Regions from separate parts of the Homo sapiens genome. Here regions 1, 2 and 4 are each linked to region 3. Evidence: promoter capture Hi-C in human tissues and cell types (Jung and others, 2019). All regions are on one chromosome and are shown on one strand. Each heading gives the region's core, a stretch centred on a gene start or on the middle of the fragment in contact. The rest is flanking DNA. Distances are from core to core; before and after follow the strand shown. Region 1 holds the start of HK3 (hexokinase 3). Region 2 holds the start of ZNF346 (zinc finger protein 346). Region 3 holds the start of SNCB (synuclein beta). Region 4 overlaps ZNF346 (zinc finger protein 346).

Region 1 (2,700 bases), core at 7-2,506, 270 kb before region 3:
CCAGGACCCCTGCTCCTGGGGTCTGGACACAGACCTTCCAGAAACGCAGATGAAGAGCCCTGGCCATGCTTGTCAGGGGCATATCCTCACCCTGGCTCAAGAAATGGCAGGCTATCTGCATGAATCACAGCTGGGCCTTTCATAGTCAGTTCCACATTCTCCTCTCCCAACTGAACAAAGTTGAAAGGGACTGGGATCCCAGGCTAGGCAGGATGCTGTGTTGTTTGTGACAGCCACTCTACCCTCTGCCACCCCATCCCCCACTTCCCTGCCTTTCACAGCCTATATGCCTGGTTGGTACCCAGTAAACTTCACAGCAGGACTGATGTTTGGCATGTTTCCTGGCCTCTTCATGCCACTACTGATAGAGGAGCCACTATCTCTGGTCTCCATCCTGATGTCATGTGGAGGCCTACTATCTGTGGATAGAGTTACTGCTGACAAGGCAGCCTGAAGCTTTAAAGTGTATCCATGCCTTCAACAAAGATTGTTGCAGGCTGTCTAGTATTCTACATTGGTGCCCCAAGGTTCTGTGCCTTTGAGGAGAAATTCCCACAGAAAAACAGCTTGTTCGCCAATAGCTCCACAGCAGCCTAACACTCCCCTTCTTCCAGTAGAGAAGACCTAAGATGTGAACCTACTCTCCCTGCGCAGGCTACAGACTAAAGGCTAGACTCCGCAGTCTGCCTGTCACCTCCTCTCCCACTATATATTCCTACCTTGGTGTACCCTCTTCAGGCGCCTGGAGCTGCACCTCATTGCTGTGTGTGTGTGATTTGTGGTTGTGCACATGCTCTCCACTTTGTCAAGGACCACTTTTGTCAGCATACTGCTGTTCTTTCTTCAAGACTCAGCTTCTTCAGCTAGCCCTGCCCACTCTCGGCAGAGTCAGTCCCTTCCGCTTGTGCTCCCACATTGCCTCTTGCTCAAAAGTACTTACCATAACCTTTCCAGGCTAGGCGCCTCCAGCTCCTTCTAGGGGCGAGCCACCACCTCAGAACTCACTATATTTGCAAAATAAACAGCCCTCAGCATTGTAGAGGGAATGGCCCAAAATCTTAGACCCAGTTCAACGCTCCACTTCGCGGTAATCATCTTGCTCAAGTTTTCACCACAGCCTTGCCTAGCCTGGGCTACTCTTAGGGCAGGCTTGGAAGGAAGTGCAGCTTCCTGAATTAGCTGATGTTTGGTAAGTGGTGGTGGAGGAAAAGGGTGGGGCTTGAGGATATTATAACTCGGGTCACCCCTGAGTGTTGCTTTTGGTCATTGGGGTGCCTCATATTGCCAGACAAGAGCTCAGACCTGAGGAGAGTGACTAGCTTCTCTGTGTCCCAGGTAAGCACTTCGGTCTAATTACTGCCTGCTCCTTCCACAGCTGTCTTGTCCTCATCCCTCCTGTTTGGCTCACACCAGGGGAAGTGGACACTGGAAAGATTAAGCCAGCTGGTTCTCTTTCTTTGTTTTTGAGATGGGGTCTCTCTCTCTATCACCCAGACTGGAGTACAGTGGCACAGTCAGGGCTCACTCCAGCCTTGACCTCCTGGGTTCAAGTGATCCTCCCACCTCAGCCTCCGGAGTAGCTGAGACTACAGGCGCACACCACCACACCCAGCTAATTTTTGTTATTTTTTTCTAGCGATGGCGTTTTGCCATGTTGCCCAGGCTAGTCTCACATTCCTGGGCTCAAGCAGTCTGTCTGCCTCAGCCTCCCAAAGTGCTGGGATTACAGGTGCAAGCCACCACACCCAGCCTGCCAGCTGGTTCTCGATGGCAGCTCCCAACATCAGTAGAGGTCCCTGGGGTACTTTTCAGGAGGAAAACTCACTTCGTGTAGCCCATTCAGCTAAGGGAAGCCACGGGGCCCTTAGGCAAACAGACCCTGGGCTCTGGGGATACTGCAGTGAAGGAGACATGTCCCTCCCCACAGGGAATCTCAGTGGGAAGAGACAGAGCTGAATACATTTACCTAGCATATAAATATTAGGGCTACTTGGGGATTGCTTCACAGATTCTGTCATGTAAAAATGCTGAATAAATATTGAATGGATGAGGGAATGAATGAGTGAGTGAATGAATAAATGAACTAGCTGGGCCTTGAGAAAGACACGTGTGTAGCCCTTAGTCCTTTTCGAAGGTAATTGCCCCAGTTACCTCATTTTATCCTTGAAATAGACCTGCAGCATAGAACAAGAATTCCACACCCCTATTTGACAGATTTGGAAACTCAGCATAGGTATGTATGGTTTGGGGAGATTTATCAGAAGCTGATTTGTTGCTTTATTAAATAAAAAACTACCCACTCCCCTTGCTTCCAATTTTGGAAAGGCACATTAGCACATACCTATACCAGACCCTGTGCCGGCCATGAGTGCAGAGGTGATCAAGTTGGGTGGGGTAAGGAGGTGAAGAAACTAGAAGCAGAGCTATCAGTTTAGGAGGCTGTTGTAATAATCAGGCCGGAGGATGGTCTGGTGCAGTGTGTGGGAATGGGGAGGAGGGGATGCAGAGGAGAGCTCTTAGAGAGCCTGAGATCCAATTGCATAGAGGAGGTGAGGGTGAGGGATGCGCGCAGGCAGCCCGAACGGCCGTGTGAGTGAGCACACTTCGATGTCTCCAGTCAAGGTGGAGAACAGAAGAGCTTTGTGGGGGTAAGGTGATGGAAAAATGAGTATGGCTTTGTTGAATTTGAGGAGCTTCTCC
Region 2 (2,700 bases), core at 181-2,680, 390 kb before region 3:
TATATATACAGATTTATGTGTGTATATATTATATATATACATTTATGTGTGTGTATATTATATATACGCATACACACACACCATTTCTGGGGCCCTGTCTCCTTCTTTTTTATATATAATATACATTATATATATATATAAACTTAGGAGACAGGCTAGACTTGTTTTTAAATTGGAGAAGTATATACCAGGGTATAGGTCTGTGTACCTTCCTTAGATATGGTCAAAATTTCAATTTTATCCAATTTTATCCAGGGCAGTCAGTTCACAAATAGCATATTAAACTTTCGAAGACAAGTCTGCTCAGCAAGCAAACAAATCACTGGAGAAATCTGATTTCCCTCCAGATACCTGACAAGGTTAGCAGAGAAGCCCAGATAGAGTTCTTGTACATCTGGGTTAGCATCAAGCAGCTGGCTCTGTAAAGGACAGTGAAGGGAGTCACACAAGCAGGTCAGGACAGCTCTTTTCCATCCTTCTCTTTCTTTCATCCCATCTTACCCAGTCTCAGGTCAAGTGCAGAGCAAGCTGGGGCGCTTCGGCCCAGGAGTGACCCCTAACGTGGCTTTGCATACACTGTTCTCAGCAACTTTGGGTCAAGTGTAGGACACAAAGAAGCTGGAGCCAAAGCAAACCCAGACCAGTTTCTCAGGCTCCTTGTCCCCACCTTAGAATAAGGGACCCAGCAAGTAGAGGCCAGAGAGCTAAAAACGGGTAAGCCAGGGCTCAGTCATCAAGACCAGGAGGAACCCAGGGGGTAAGGAGAAGGCCTTCCAGAGCCCTCGGAAGTGTGGGGCTTGAGAGAAGGGAGGCGAGAGGCCCTAGGAGGAAATCTGGAGATTGGGACGATGGGGAGTCAAGGAGTGGTGAGGGGCACTCGGCTTGGCTTACCGGGATGGCAAAGACTGTAGGTCTCCGACAGGACGAGTATAGGGATGACAGTCCTCGAATGTGGGAAAAACTGCGCTGTAGTGAATGATGAAGGAGGAGGAGGAAAACCCAGGGCCTGAGCGTGAGCGGCCCTTCACCCTCAGCGCGCTGGGGGCCCGATTCTTGGGGTGCCCGCGCCCGGATGGGGAGCACAAGTCTGGGGGTCCCGGGGCGCAGCACGCAAGGAGGCGGGCCAGGGGGTGTGACCGTCGGCGCTTCCGCAGTTCCCCGCGAGCCGCGCAGCGGGCGAGGGGCTTTCTGCCTCCAAAGCCCCCGACTCACCTTCCTCTCTACCCACCGGCTGGGCACCGGACACGGCTTCCCACAGGCGGCGCGCCCTCTCGCGGTCAAAGCGCACCCCGTCCGGCTCCTGGCCCTCCAGCAACTCCGAGCTGCTGTAAGGCCCGGCCGCTCCGCCGTCCGCGGCCTGCACCGTGGCCGGCGCGGGATACTCCATCTTCCCCGCAAACCCTCACCGGTAGAGAGCCTCTCAGGCGCCTAGGTATCGCGAGATTTGGTGGGTGGTACTTGGCCCAGCCAACAAATCTCGCGAGGTTTGGGCGCTGCACCCGCGCTGCCGTGCGGGACCCCGCGCTTATTTTGCTTTGCTACCTCTGGTACCTCAGAGCGTGTGCCGTGGATTCGGAAACCTGTCGCTGATTCCGCAGCAGTGACCCCCCCCTCCCGGAGAGGCTCGTGTGGTTTTGGCTCATGGCTCTCACCTTGCTCACGGTCAGCCCTTGATACTTTTCATTTCGTTCTCAAGGTCCCGTTATGTGGGAGTGTTTTCGCCATTTCATTCACAGGGAAACTGAGGCCCAGAACCTAAAAATGGTTAACTCAAGAGCTCGCTACTAGTAAGTAGTAGTACAGCTAAGGTTCCATATTACTGCTAATAATACATACTATTTGTTGAGTTCCAAGTGCCAGCTCCCAGCTCTGATCTTCCCCGAGACTCCGGACCTGTATACATCCAGTTGCCTCTTCCACAGTTCACTCGAATGGCTAATAGGCTTCTCCAATGTAGCTGTCAGACCCCAAATTTTATCTTCCAACCCCAGAGCTGCTCCTTCCCGTGTCTTTGGGAGCCACCATCTCTTGCCTAGGTTATTGTAGTAGCAACCTCACTGGCATTCCCAGCACAGCAGTTCCAGGAATCCTCTTATGACAAGTCAGATCATGACGCTTAGGTTCTCAAATCCTCCAACAGCTTCCCATCTCACTCTTAGTAAAAGCCAAAGTCCGGCCAGGCGCGGTGGCTCACGCCTGTAATCCCAGCACTTTGGGAGGCTAAGGGGGGGCGGATCACCTGAGGTCCGGAGTTCGAGACCAGCCTGACCAACATGGAGAAACCCCGTCTCTACTAAAAATACAAAATTAGACGGGTGTGGTGGCACATGCCTGTAATCCCATCTACTCGGAGGCTGAGCCAGGAGAATGGCTTGAACCCGGGAGGCAGAGGTTGCTGTGAGCCGAGCTGGCGCCATTGCACCCCAGCCTGGGCAACAAGAGCGAAACTCCGACTAAAAAAAAAAAAAGCCAAAGTCCTTACTTCGACCAACAAGGCCCTGTACAATCTGACTTCCCTTAACCTCCCTGATCCTGATGTGTTACTCAGTCCCCAACTCCTTAATTCCTGTCCCAGTTATCCAGGCCTCCTGGGGTGAATTTCTCTCATATATCTTCATGGCTCAGTCTCCCACTTCCTTCTCTGGCTACTCTATCTAAAATACCTTGTCTGGCTATCCCATCTAAAATGTTACTTTTCCA
Region 3 (2,738 bases), core at 108-2,607:
TACAAAAAAACATGCTACAGTGAACATCCTTGCACAGGTATCTTTGTGTGCATGTATGGCTAGAGTCGCACGGGATCAATTCCTGGAAGGGGAGCTGTTGGCTCCAAAGGCGCATGCATTTATGCTTGGTAAACATTGCCAGATTGCCTTCCAAAATGTCTGCGCCAATTTGCAGTTCTACCAGCGGCCTGTGAATGTTTTTTGTTTGGTTGGTTGGGTTTTTTCCTTTTTTTTTTTTTTTGCAGTCTGGCTGCTGGTGGCCCCCTCGCCTAATTACCTGTCACTTACACACCCTGCATTTCTGGCCACAGTGCCTTTGCCCATGCTGTACCCACAGCCTAAAATTCTCTTTCTCCCTAGCCTGCTCGATGAAATAGTCCCCTTCCTGTCAGGCCACAGTTCAGTTGTCACCTCTTTTTTATGTCCTTTCCTGACTCCCCTAAGTTGTCAGAGTCCCTTTCCTCTGGGATACTACAGCTTCTTGGGCATAATTCTATCATAGAACCAACTGAGGGCCTACTGTGTGCCTGGCATTCTGTGATCATTTTGACAGTCCCCACCGTAAGCACACAAAAAAGTGGTTTTGTTCTCCACCTCCCTCCATCCTGGCTCTCCAGCTGCGCTGTCTTTTGTCAGCACAGTCCTGCCTTGGAGCCTTTGCACTTGCACTCTCTATGGATCTTGTCCTCACCCATCGTGGTGTCATGGTGCCTCTCTGGAGTCTCTGCTACAATTCACCTGCTGGTAGAGGCCTTCCCTGAGCACCCTGTCTCAAGCACCCCTCCTCTAGTCCCCGTGTTACATCACCGTTACCTTCACAACTTACAAGCTGTAATGACCTTGTTGCTTTGGATGTTGATCCGTTTATTTTCTGTCCTGTCTTCCACCACTGAGCGCACGAACACACACGCGTACAGACACCCCCATGGTAAGCTTCCCGAGACCAGGAACCTTGTTTTCCTTTTCCGCTGCCTCCAGCCTTAAACCTGCACCACTGGACTAAGCGCTCAGTAAACATTCGTTGAATTAACCATTCCTGTTTTACAGAGGAGGAAACTGTCATTCAGAAAGGAGAGCCGAGTAGCTCAAGGTCCCACGGTTAATAAAAAGCACAGCTGAGATTCGAGCCCAGCAGAACTCCAAATCCAGTCGCGTGATTTCTTCCCCACTCTTCACACGCCGCGTTGTCCCCCTCCCTCAACTCCCAACAGACTACGCGAGTCTTACGGCCGGGGCCCCCAGGGGCGCGTCCCGGGCCCGCCCCGGGAGGCTCATCGGCTACGCGCTGTCACCCTCCCCGCCCCCTGTCAGTCAGGCCGAAGGGGCGGCGCGGCCGCCAGCGGGGGCGCTGAGCTCAGAGCTGCCGCAGCGCCGGAGCCGGAGCCGGAGCCGGAGCGCGCGAGCTCGCAGGGCGCGAGGAACGAGCGGTGGCTGGCTACGCACCCGAGACCCGGGCACTGCTGCGCTCCTGCTCAGGACCCGCGACCCGAGCGCCTGATCCCGGCCCTATCCCCCCTCCGGCCCCTGGTCCACCCCGGCCTGGCCTAGCGGAGCCCCCGCGTCCGCCCGCCGCAGCCGCCGCTCCATCCCCAGCCCCGGCCCCGCATCCAGGTGAGGCGGCCGCGCGCCGGGGATGGGGAACGGGATGAGGATGGAGAGGGGACTGGGGCGACAGGAGGGAGCTGGGGAAGGGGATGGAAAATGGAGGGAGACCCGGGGGATGCGCGTCAGTGTGCACCCCGGAGTATGTGAGTATGCTCCGGTGTTTGCAGCTGCCCGGGCGGCTGTGGGGACGTGTGTCCGCGCCCATGTGGGTCGGGGTATTCGTGCGCGTTGGAGCGTCTGCGTGTCCTGTGTGTGCACGTGAGCTTGTCCGTGGTGTATGTTTGTGTGCATGACCGTGTGACTGTGCCGTGCGTGTACAGGCGGGTCCTGGATATTCGCGCCGAACCCAGCACTCCGGTTCGACGGGGCTGCAGTTTGCAGGGCCCGGATAACCGAGGCAGTGGCCCCTCCCGCGTCCCCAGGTTTCAAGGACGCTAGGACTCTCCGCGGCCCTGAGGCTTCGCACTGGGGAGTGGGGTGGGATGGGGGGAAAGCGGGAGGGGGCTCAGGGTCCAGAAGGGCGCCGCGGTCTCGGGAGTAGGGGGGCATCTGCGTCCCGCGGGAGGGGCTGGGGTGAGAGTGCGGGGCCAGTGCACCGGTGCCCGTGTATCGCCCTCCCCAGGCCGCCAGGATGGACGTGTTCATGAAGGGCCTGTCCATGGCCAAGGAGGGCGTTGTGGCAGCCGCGGAGAAAACCAAGCAGGGGGTCACCGAGGCGGCGGAGAAGACCAAGGAGGGCGTCCTCTACGTCGGTGGGTAAGGGGCGGGGTTTCTGGGGCTGCAGGGCTGGGGGTCCCCCGACAGTGTGGAGCTGGGGCCGGGTCCCGGGGAGGGGGGTTCTGGGCAGGAGAATATGAGTCAGCAGATGGGGCGAGGTCAGCAGGGGTCATAGGGGACATAGCCAGCCCATAGAAGCCTGGGTCTGTATCCGGAAATGGGGACACGGGGCGGGCTGATGAGGTGGGGGGCTCCAGCTGAAAGGCCAGGGACCAGTGCAGTGATGAAAGCAGACAGCCTCCTTTTTCTTATCTTTTTTACCATTATTAATAGTTATCTGGTGTTGAACACTTTCTGTATGCCAAGTACTGGGTAAAATGTCATAACATCCATTTCCTCATGTAATGCTTCGGCCC
Region 4 (2,700 bases), core at 111-2,610, 410 kb before region 3:
GCGCAGCAAACCTTACACTGGGTGTTGGTGAAGAGACATTGGTTCTTCTGGATCATGTGCTCCACTATAGAGGGGAAAACAAGAAATCATTGAGTTGACAAACACTACCTCAACAGCACTGCCTTTGAACCCTGCCTCAAACACAGGCACTGAATGATGGGATGCCATACTAGGACACTGGCAGACCTCAGCCAGCCTTTCCTACTGCCACCGTGACTCATGCTGTGTTCTCACACCACCTACACTATTACTTATTTTATAATTTTATGTATGCCAACTTTCTTTACTTAGGAACTTCTTTTAAAAAGGAATCTTTAGATCATAAACTTAAGCAGATACCAATAAAAATAAATATGATAAAAATGAGGCTTGGAGCATTCCCCAGGAAGAAGAGAACAGCAACTGTGCTGAGAGGTTTTAAGATATGGTAGCACCCAACTGAAACTTCTTCCCAGATAGAATCAGGAGGACTGAAAGACTCGAAAAAGGAATACTTTTCTCATTGTTCTTGATCTGACTTTGAAACATTTAAAATCACATAACAGGGTGGGGCGTGGTGGCTCACGCCTGTAATCCTAGCACTTTGGGAGGCCGAGGTGGGCAGATCACCTGAGATCAGGAGTTCGAGACCAGCCTGGCCAACATGGTGAAACCCTGTCTCTACTAAAAATACAAAAATTAGCCAGGTGTGGTGGCAGGCACCTATAATCCCAGCTACTCGGGAGGCTGAGGCAGGAGAATTGTTTGAACCCAGGAGGCAGAGGTTGTAGTGAGCTGAGGTTGTGCCACTAACTCCAACTTGGGTGACAGAGCTAGACTCTGTCTCTAAATAAATAAATAAAATAAAATCACATAACGTATTATATAAGTGCCACACTATATGAAACATGGTATTAACCTGTGCTTAAATTATTGTGCCTGGAGAACAGTCTTACCTTTTTGAGAAGAGAAGAGGAGGTAAAATCTCTCCCAAGGCATAAGTTCATTTTTGTTTGTTTTTTTTTTTTTTGAGAGGGAGTCTCGCTCTGTCACCCAGGCTGGAGTGCAGTGGCATGATGTCGGCTCACTGCAAGCTCCGCCTCCCAAGTTCACACCATTCTCCTGCCTCAGCCTCCCGAGTAGTTGGGATTACAGGCACCCACCACCACGCCCAACTAATTTTTTTGTATTTTTAGTAGAGACGGGGTTTCATCGTGTTAGCCAGGATGGTCTCGATCTCCTGACCTCGTGATCCACCCACCTTGGCCTTCCAAAGTGCTGGGATTACAGGCGTGAGCCACCGCGCCCGGCCAAGGCATGAGTTCTATCATGGCGCTGGCAATGTGAGGCAGAGGCAGAGGCAGAGTCTAAAACTGGGAGAGGAGGGCAGGCCCACATTTTTAATCTCCTGGTCTCAGCCAAAAAGTGGTCAAGGCTAGGCACAGTGGCTCACACCTGTAATCCCAGCATTTTGGGAGGCTGAGGTGGGAGGATGGGTTGAGCCCAGGAGTTTGAGACCAGCCTGGGCAAGATGGTGAGACTCTGTCTCTACATAGAAACAAACACACCAACAAACCAAAAACTAGCCGGGGGTGGTGGCACATGCCTGTGGTTCCAGCTTCATGGGAGGCTAAGGCTGAGACAGAGACAGAAGGATTGCTTGAGCTCAGGAGGTCAAGGCTATGGCAAGCCATGTTAGTGCCACTGTACTCCAGCCTGGATAACAGAGCAAGCCCCTGTCTTAAAAAAAAAAAAGTCGATGCCCTGGAAGAGGTTCTTGGTGGGGAGCTTTTAAGATGTCTCTCCTTAATCCACAAAATCTAAAGCTTACCTATGTCAGCCCTTTTAGGCAGAAGGGCTGTATTTCTGCCCCTAATGATCTCTTTTTATTTCTGCATTTTTCTTTTAAATGGTAAATTTTTGTGAAAGACCTTGCCTGTCTTAGCTATGCTCTGAAAAACCAAGAGAAATGACTCTATAAACAAAATTGGCCCAGAACTTTTAAAAGAGGGTCAGAGGTGGCCAGGCACGATTGGTAATGCCTGTAATCTTAGCACTTTGGGAGGCCAAGGTGGGTGGATCATCTGAGGTCAGGAGTTTGAGACCAGCCTGGCCAACATGGTAAAACCCCATCTCTACTAAAAATACAAAACTAGCCGGGTGTGGTGAAGCATGCCTGTAATCCCTGCTACTTGGGAGACAGAGGCAGGACAATCACTTGAACCTGGGAGGCAGAGGTTGCAGTGAGCCGAGATTGTGCCATTGCACTCCAGCCTGAGCAACAGCAAAACTCGGACACACACACACACACACACACACACACACACACACACAAGAAGAAGAAGAAAAAAGAAGAAAAAAAAGAGGGTCAGAGGCTTCTCACAATAAGAAACCCACATGGGGAAGGTAATACCCAGGGGTCAGAGTTCAGTCATCACTTCCTCACCTGGAGATTGTGGATTTTGTTTTGTTCAAGAGATGAGGTTTCAAGCATATTCAGAATCAGACTCCCAAACCCACAGCAAGGGCAGGTAAGCACCTGCTAAATAAATGTACCTCTCTGCTGGAATGCACTCTCTGGCCTTAGAGAGTACATTCACATAGTCCACACAAATATATTTATAATACGTGCTTTGTGTCAACACTGCACTTAGTGCTGGGGGCCATACCAACAAAGAAGATGGGGTATAAAGTAAAAAATAAGCAAGACAATGACAGAGA

The links. The method cuts DNA at HindIII sites, captures the fragments that hold promoters and counts their contacts. A contact is called where the count stands out against the background at its distance.
Region 1: a contact is called between the fragment with the promoter of HK3 here and the fragment with the promoter of SNCB in region 3, in 2 of the 25 tissues and cell types used here (IMR-90 fibroblasts and mesendoderm cells).
Region 2: the fragment with the promoter of ZNF346 here is called in contact with the fragment with the promoter of SNCB in region 3 in 2 of the 25 tissues and cell types used here (heart left ventricle and mesenchymal stem cells).
Region 4: a contact is called between a fragment that was not itself captured here and the fragment with the promoter of SNCB in region 3, in 1 of the 25 tissues and cell types used here (dorsolateral prefrontal cortex).

The regions. Positions count from the first base shown.
Region 1 is chr5:176,897,902-176,900,601 of GRCh38, reverse strand. HK3 (hexokinase 3) reads left to right here and starts at 1,256. Exons shown (of 19, transcript NM_002115.3): 1 at 1,256-1,335. RefSeq lists an enhancer at 1-436. The HindIII fragment of the contact is 11,300 bases long and covers 1-2,700 here.
Region 2 is chr5:177,021,426-177,024,125 of GRCh38, reverse strand. ZNF346 (zinc finger protein 346) reads right to left here and starts at 1,430. Exons shown (of 7, transcript NM_012279.4): 1 at 1,213-1,430. The coding sequence starts at 1,387. It also overlaps a transcript of UIMC1 not described here. RefSeq lists enhancers at 652-1,188, 1,616-1,665, 1,189-1,726 and a silencer at 1,066-1,215. The HindIII fragment of the contact is 9,260 bases long and covers 1-2,700 here.
Region 3 is chr5:176,629,153-176,631,890 of GRCh38, reverse strand. It overlaps SNCB (synuclein beta), which reads left to right and starts at 1,357. Exons shown (of 6, transcript NM_003085.5): 1 at 1,357-1,611; 2 at 2,228-2,357. The coding sequence starts at 2,237. It overlaps EIF4E1B (eukaryotic translation initiation factor 4E family member 1B), which reads right to left and starts at 1,216. Exons shown (of 9, transcript NM_001099408.2): 1 at 827-1,216. It overlaps MIR4281 (microRNA 4281), which reads left to right and starts at 2,391; the gene lies at 2,391-2,452. RefSeq lists a silencer at 1,176-1,445. The HindIII fragment of the contact is 9,216 bases long and covers 1-2,738 here.
Region 4 is chr5:177,038,490-177,041,189 of GRCh38, reverse strand. It overlaps ZNF346 (zinc finger protein 346), which reads right to left. Exons shown (of 7, transcript NM_012279.4): 2 at 1-64. Among named protein-coding and RNA genes, the nearest start is that of ZNF346, 17 kb to the right of the region's middle. RefSeq lists a silencer at 2,451-2,500. The HindIII fragment of the contact is 3,815 bases long and covers 1-2,700 here.